Regions from separate parts of the Homo sapiens genome. Here region 1 is linked to region 2. The links are contacts of gene promoters, found by promoter capture Hi-C in human tissues and cell types (Jung and others, 2019). All regions are on one chromosome and are shown on one strand. Each heading gives the region's core, a stretch centred on a gene start or on the middle of the fragment in contact. The rest is flanking DNA. Distances are from core to core; before and after follow the strand shown.

The links. Contacts are between HindIII fragments. The study calls those that stand out against the background at their distance.
Region 1: a contact is called between a fragment that was not itself captured here and the fragment with the promoter of KRTAP19-8 in region 2, in 1 of the 25 tissues and cell types used here (adrenal gland).

Annotation. Positions count from the first base shown.
Region 1 is chr21:30,998,947-31,002,972 of GRCh38, reverse strand. All of the region lies in intron 1 of LOC105372776 (a long non-coding RNA gene), which reads left to right. Among named protein-coding and RNA genes, the nearest start is that of KRTAP19-8, 38 kb to the left of the region's middle. The HindIII fragment of the contact is 6,939 bases long and covers 1-4,026 here.
Region 2 is chr21:31,036,842-31,040,801 of GRCh38, reverse strand. It overlaps KRTAP19-8 (keratin associated protein 19-8), which reads left to right and starts at 2,326. Exons shown (of 1, transcript NM_001099219.1): 1 at 2,326-2,643. The coding sequence starts at 2,359. The coding sequence ends at 2,550. RefSeq lists an enhancer at 1,447-1,616. The HindIII fragment of the contact is 7,103 bases long and covers 1-3,960 here.

The DNA.
Region 1 (4,026 bases), core at 212-2,711, 37 kb after region 2:
ATAGAGGTGGGATGCCGAAGTGAGTTATAAAGTTGAATTTCAAACTTAGGTTCAGCTGACTCAAAGCCGGAGGTTACCCTACACTGCCTGGTATAATGAAGAGTGTTTCACTTTTCTCTGCAGTGGGGCAGATTCTAATTTCGTATTCTTGTAAGAGCCATATATAACTTAGCATGCGTGCACAATATAGTTAAAAAGATAAATGCATCTACTGAAATTCATGTTTAAAATGCACAAAGCCAGGGTACCTTTGAAATACTTTCTAAATGAAGCTCATTGCCCACCCCCTGCAGTTTAAAAAAATTATTTATTTTTCACTAAGCCAAGTTAAAAGCAGAGGAAAAGGATTTTAGTAGCAGATCATCTCCCAGAGGGGAGTGATTTGTCTTCATTAGTATTCCAATTTTTAGTATGCAAATTGTATGTACTTTTTTCTCTCTTCTTTATATTCGTGGCAAATTATAATTCACTCTCACTGAGGGAATGGCATGGAAAATGAAAAGAACCTAATCTTTAACATTAGTCAGACTTTCTCTGATTTGGGCGGAAGTGTAGGGGCCCGCCTCAAGGCATGGGGTCAGCTGAAAGACCTTTCGAGGTTTTCTTCTAGTCCTAGGAGTCATTTAATTATTCTCTTTTTCTGATTAGTTTTTCCCATCACATTTTAATATTTATGAAATTGAGAAGCACCTTACTATTGATCGAATGTTTAAAATTTTGGTGAATTGTTATTTCCTCCCATTTTTTGTTGTGTCTCACAATTGATGGTATCTTCAAATTGAGTAAATCTAGGAATCCTTGTTGGGACGCTCAGGAGCTGTTCTGATACCCTTTAGCTCTCAACTTCTAAGAAATGGGGGGCTGGCATCAAGGCTACCCTGGTTAACATTTCCTTCTAAATTTCCTTCTGGTTGACCAATGTCACAACCTTCCAACATCCTTTAGTTCTTATCTATTAAACAACATTATAGCAGTAATCAGCTGTTCCTTATATCTTAGAATATTCTTCCTTTGCTTAATAAATAGGGTCAGTGTGATTCGGAATGTTTTCTCAGCTATTGATGCTGCGCATGGAGAAGGCTGAAAGTCCAAGAAGTAGCAGTGAGCAACACAAGATCCCCACAGCTCCCAAGAGAAAACAGGCAGACCCTGAGCACAGACATCTCCGCGTTAGTGCCAGGCTGACGCCTCCTGGTTGGCGTGGTGATGGGAGGGGGCTAGATCAGGAGACAGTCTTGGGATGTCACCATGGGATGAGGGTTTCTCTTATTCTCCTCTTTGTGATGTAAGCCTGGCTCAGGTTGTCACTTTAGAGCTACGGTAAGGATGGTCATCCCTGAGGTCCCTTTGAGGATCTTCATGACATCAACATGTCTTCCCTATTTCTGTGTGTGAAACTGATCTTTGTTTCCTCGTGTTACTTCAGGATCCCAATAGCCATGGGCTCTCGGTAACATCTTCATGATGCTGGCGTGTGATAGGTTTATTTATTCCTTTTCTTCCTGCTGTCACTACCCTTGCCTTCCCAGTGTTTATTTTGCATGCCTTAGCACAGACCCTGGCCAGCTGAGTTACTATTAGATGCAATAGGATCTATCTTTTATTGTATCTGGTGGGATAAACCCTCTACCTGGTCAACATCTCAGATTGCCAAGAATTTAAATAATACTTTATTTTTTGAGACAGAGTCTCTGTCGCCCAGGGTGGAGAGCAGTGGCACAATCTCGGCTCCCTGCAACTTCTACCTCCCAGGTTCAAGCGATTCACGTGCCTCAGCAAGTGAGTAGCTATCTGAGTAGCTGGGGTTAAAGGGATGTGCCACCACGCCCAGCTATTTTTTTTTTTTATTTTTAGTAGAGACAAGGTTTCTCCATGTTGCCCAGGCTAGTCTTGAACTCCTGGCCTCAGGTGATCTCCCAAAGAGTTGGGATTACAGGCGTGAGCCATGGTACCCTGCCAGTAATACTATTTATAATGCAGCTGCACACAGATTAACGGGATGCCGAAGGAGACATTTCCTATTGTCAGGGCTTTCAGCTAAAGTCCCAAAGCTGAGGATAATAAGCAGTAGGTGTTTCCATATCTTAAAGGGAATGCTAGGAGGTGGCAAATTCCTCTTCCAAATGCCTCACTAAAGAAGAGTGGATTGTTGTGCTACCCCCACACTCTATGTAAAGAGAAGACTAGATTTCATGACATTTCATTCAAGAAGAGCATTGGTAGAAAGGGGGATTCATGGAAAGAGTGGTTACTGATCTAGCAAGAGGTCTTAGGCAGTGAGGCTCTGTTCCCTCCTTATGCTGCCTGAGGGCCAGGGCTCCAGGTCGCCTTTTGGAGATAGGAGCATGCCAACAAGAGCGGAGACTGATTTAGTGACTGGAGGCCTGCTTAGCTGAAGAAATCCAAAGATCCGTCTCCGTGTGGTAGGGGGTGGTGAGAACCTTCTTGGGAGAATGTGACACATTTCCCGGAGTCTGTGCATGCACGTGAGTTTATGAGCTTGTACCTCTTGCTTGCTTTCATAACTGTGGAGAGGGAAGGCTGATAAGAGCAGTTTGTGATGTCAGGAAGTTGAGAGAAGGCAGCTGGGAGGGTGACACTCACACCTTTTGTCTGGTACAAATGTATGCATTCCTATGGACCAAATGAAATAATGGGCGATAACCTGGCAAAAGTGCCTTGAGGATACAATGGCCAAGAGGATATCCTGCGGTGGTCAGGGAATTACAGCAGTAACAGTTGTGTGGATGCACTGTTAGGGCAGGAACTGGAGACAGCAGAGCAGATCGCCCCTATAGGGGACCTACCAGGGTAAAGTTCCCTGCAGGCTTTTGAAAACTCTTCCATGCACCCCAAGAAAGAGCCAGTATGTGGACATCTCCCAGTGGGTAACTCACTAGCACCCGGGAGGAGGGACGTGTGCCTCTTCTTCTCTGATCTGGTTCCCACCTGCCTGGCTCTGGAGGAACAGGTGTCAGGACAGGGAGGGAGAAGAGAGAGTATGGCCCCCATTACACATCCCCACTCCAGGGCCAGGCTTGTGTTGTGACATGGACCTGAGGCTGAAGTTTAAGTTACATTAGTGAGTCATGTCTGCAGAAATCAATTTATAAGAAGGCCCTTCTTACCACTGCAACTGACCAATAAGCTCCTTTGCCGTCAAGAACTGGGAACAGGACTCAGACCAGGTACGTTGGAAGGAAGTGCTTGGAGAAAAATGAAACCTATTTCAAAAGAAGCTCATCAATGTCAGATGTTCAATAAGCTCATCACTTAGCTTGGGTCACGATGACATTTGGGACAAGCCATCAACAGGCGTTGCATGGCCTTCCTGAGCTACATCTACTGTTAAAGGATTTGAGGGCCTGGGTGTTAATTAAAGCCTCCTCATGTCTGCTCAGAAGACATTACTAATCCTTCTCAGAGCGAAGGATTATGAATTGTTATCAAAATAACCACAACTTGTATCTTATATTTAATTTACTATATTCAGGCACTTGTGCTAAAATCTTCACATGTTTTTATCCTCACAATTACCTAGGAAGTAGAGATTCATTATTCTCATTTAAAGATGAGAAATTGGGCCTGGTGTGGTGGCTCATGCTTGTAATCCCAGGACTTTGGGAGGCTGAGGTGGGCAGATTGCCTGAGGTCAGGAGTTTGAGACCAGCCTGGCCAAGACGGCAAAACCCCATCTCTGTGAAAAATTCAAAAATTGGCTGCGTGTGGTGGCACCGGCCTGTAGTCTCAGCTACTCGGGAGGCTGAGGCAGGAGGATTGCTTGAACCCAGGAGGTGGAGGTTGCAGTGAGCCAAGATCACGCCACTGCACTCCAGCCTGGGTGATAGAGCGAGACTCTGTCTAAAATAAAATAAAATAAAATAAAATACGATAAAATAAAAAAGGATGAAAAATCAGAGCTTAGAGAAGTCAGTTGCCTGAGGTCACACAGCAGGTAAGTGGCATAGCCAGCACTTGGATTTGGATAAGTTTGTTTTTCTCATGACATCTGGCCTCTCTGCCTTG
Region 2 (3,960 bases), core at 1,077-3,576:
TGAGATGGAGTCTTGCTCTGTCACCCAGGCTGGAGTGCAGTGGTACAATCTTGGCTCACTGCAACCTCCGCCTCCTGGGTTCAAGCAATTCTCCTGTCTCAGCCTCCCAAGGTGCCCGCCACCATGCCCAGCTAATTTTTGTATTTTTAGTAGAGATGGGGTTTCACCATATAGGTCAGGCTGGTCTCAAACTCCTGACCTCAGGTGAGCCACCACACCTGGCTTCTAATCTTATAGTTCATTTGTTAGTCCTACAAAGGCAGACTGGTCCTCATGCAAGAAGGGGGTTCATCTCAGGAAAGGGCTGTTATCATCCTTGTTTTGAAGTTAAACTATAAACTAAATTCCTCCCAAAGTTAGTTTGGCCTACACCCAGGAATGAACAAGGACAGCTTAGAGGTTAGAAGCAAGAAGGAATCGGTTAGATCAGATCTCTTTCACTGTTATAATTTTCTCAGTTAAAATTATTGCAAAGGTGATTTCAATTAGTTGCAGACTGCGGATCTAGGTTTCTGTAGCTCCCTTTGCAAGTCCTTCTTAGGTAGATTACCACCTTTCTTGGGGATGTGAGAGCTGTTGTCACTGATGATACAGGTTCTCAGCTAAAACTGAGTCCCATTTTACATCTTGTTTTGCTTTAATATTTATCTCTTAGTGAATACATATACTTTTAACTCTAAGACAAGAAAGAGTTGGGCTTCAACTTTCCACTTCAAAACTTTTGAACCTATTTTTGTTCTCCCCTCTCAGTTTTACATCTCTTGAACAATCAATGCAACAGGCATCTCCATTGTAATCTCATTGAGAATAAGTGGATGTGACTTTCAGTGTCCACTTGCTAATTTTAGTCCTTTGAGTTCTGGCCCAAAGGAAAGGAACAGACCAATCAGCATATAGATCAAAAATCAAAATGAGAAAGCTCACCAACCGAGAAAGCAAAGGAGCATTTTCATTCTTCTGTTGTGATAATACAATATTTCTTGCTTTTGCCTTTGTTGTACAACATCTATAAAAATGTGATGATGAAAAAAAACAGGTGAAAGTGAATGATTTAGGTTCTAGTCTGGGTTTTGTCACTCACTGGGTGATCTGACCAATCTTCTCCAATTCTGTTTCATCATCTGTAAAGTAAGAGGGTTACACCAGTTCTGATATTATATTATTCTATCTGAAGTGATTATTAATAGTATATAGAATAGTCGTACTGCTTATGTGCTTGAAATTGGTTTTGATACCAATGGCTAAGTAGAAGTGATTCTGACCCTTATCATGAACACTTCAGTGGGCTTCATTCTTCAAAAAGAAAATGTCATATTTAAGTATTTTTAATTTTACATATTTCTGTAAATTGTAGTTTAATTAAGGTTTCCTTAGAGAGCAGAAGATGGAATCCCAGAATTTGGAAAACAGCTTTTTAAAACCTCTTTGCTGATTGTGTTAGGAATTTAGTAAGGCAGAGAGGGCTGCCTGCCTACCTGTGACTGTGGAGTCAGATGGGTAGATCCAGTACTCAGATGTTAATCTCTTTAGAAGATTATTTTTTAAAAAGAAGATTACAAAGATGAAGAATATGGTATCACTTTGCAAAAATCACACCCACGGCTCTTGCCCCTAGTGTTATTTCCTATATAAACATTGAATAATGAAAAAGTCTTGCAGTAAGAGCTAAGAGCTATCAAAAGTTTCATAAACAACATTGAGTTAAAAGGGTAGTAATGTGTAAGGAAACAAAATTTTTCCATTTGGGTTTTTCTCTCTCTCTTAAAAAAATAAATGTGATCCTTTTGTGCTATCAGCTACATTTTGTTGGATTTATACAGTAAGTGTACCTCTTCTATTACTTCACTAACTTAAATAACAAAGATGAAGGGGAAAAACTCATGGGATTGGGAAGGGCAGTTCTTATTTACAGCCATATCTCTAGCTCTGAGCATAGTGCCTGGGATGCATTAGTTGGGCATTAAATATTTGTGCAAGGAATACATTAAGAATTGGATACTGGGAAGGGGCTGTAATGAAAGAACAATTTTAGGTGACAAAATGGGAGCTGATTGCTGCTCTTATGTCTGATTATAGAGCTTTAACTATGATGGTCAAAGCAAGAGGGCTTTGAAGACAGCATAATCATCCTGTGGAATCCAAACTGCACAGAAATCGAATGAAAACATCTTTAATTAGTGTCAGGAATTGTCCTACAGTTTTAAGATGAGTGAGTTTTTTTTCATGCAATTGAATCTACGCCATGAGAAGTCTACCCCACTAATCACTGAGGATGTATAAAAGTCCCAGGGAAGCTGGTGATAGTTGTACTCAGGAAACTTGCCCTTGACCTCCAAACACATCTACAGTTGCTGAACCATGAGCTACTACAGAAGCTATTATGGAGGCCTGGGCTATGGCTATGGAGGCTTTGGTGGCTGGGGCTATGGCTATGGCTGCGGCTATGGCAGCTTCCGCAGGTTGGGCTATGGCTGTGGCTACGGAGGCTATGGATTCAGCTGTTGCCGACCATTATACTACGGAGGATATGGATTCTCTGCCTTCTACTGAAGAGTGAACTCATTCTTTGGATCACTAGAATCTGTCTATCATCCTGACTTAATTCTCCTTTCAGGTCTTTTTACCCCCTCTGTGAATTGCGCAGCCACTTTCTTGATAAACCAGACAAAGCAGCAAAGGGTGCCTTGTGAACTCTTCAAAGTCAAGACTCAATTCTGGCAACAAACACAACAGAATCAGTGGCAGCAGCAAGGGGAGCCCTTCCTGTAGAATGACCTAGAATCCCACCTTTCAAGCTGTGAATCCCTCTCTTCCCTTATTAATATATCAACATGGCACCAACTCTTCTTCTATTTCAATAAACTAATTTTAATAGTAGAGCAAATTTGGTTTAATTTTTTTTTCTGTTTTACTGTGGTAAGAACACTTAACATGAGATCTACCCTCCTAACAACTGTTTGAGTCAACCATACATTATTGTCGACTACAGGTACCATACTGTATAGCTGATCTCTAAGGTCCGTTCACCTTGCCTGACTTAAACTTCATGCCTCTTTGTCAGTAACTGCCTATTTCTCCCTTCACCCAGCCCTTGGTAACTGCCATTCTACTCTTGGATTCTACAAATTTCACTCTTTTGGATGCCTCATGTAAAGTGGAATCGGGCAGTATTTGTCTTTCTGTGGCTGGTATATCTCACTTGGTTTCATTTCTATTGATTCATTTCACAGAACCAGACCCAAGCTTCCAGGATCTGTGTGTGTGTTAATTCACCATTGTATATTCTGTGGTCATGACAATACCTGGCATGTATAAGGCAGTCAAGAATATTTGTGGATTAAGAAACTTGCTCATCAGTGTTATAATATAAAATCATTTTTAATCTGTCCAGTGGTTTGGGGATAATTTGGGGATAATGGTGTTCTTTTATAGCTCTCCACCCTCTTCTCACCCCATTTCCTCTTATACACACACATACTCACACACTCTGGTCAAATATCTCCCACCCTAGGTGGAGTTTATTTTTGCCCCAGCAGCTGACAAAAAACCTCAACAGTAGCACTCCATATGTACACCCTTACAGGGTCAGGCAGAATGCCTTGCATTTTGTCAAGAAGCATAAATGAAAAATTATTTGCTTTCAAGGCAAGCTACAGATATTTGCCACATAACTGGAAAATGTGCACGTCTGGACTTCACCATAAACAACCTAATGTCTATCAACAGTATAATGGAAAAATAAATTGCAGTATAGTCTTACAATGGAATATTACACAGCAATGACAATGGCCAAACTAGAGCTATAGGCAACAACCTGGCTGAACCTCACGATCATAATGTGGAGTGAAAGGACCCAGGCATAGTAGAATAAATACAGTATGAGCCCATTTATTTAAGTTTTTAGACAAGAAAAACGACATTACAGGGTTAGAAGTCAGGATAGTCGTTACCTTTGGGAAG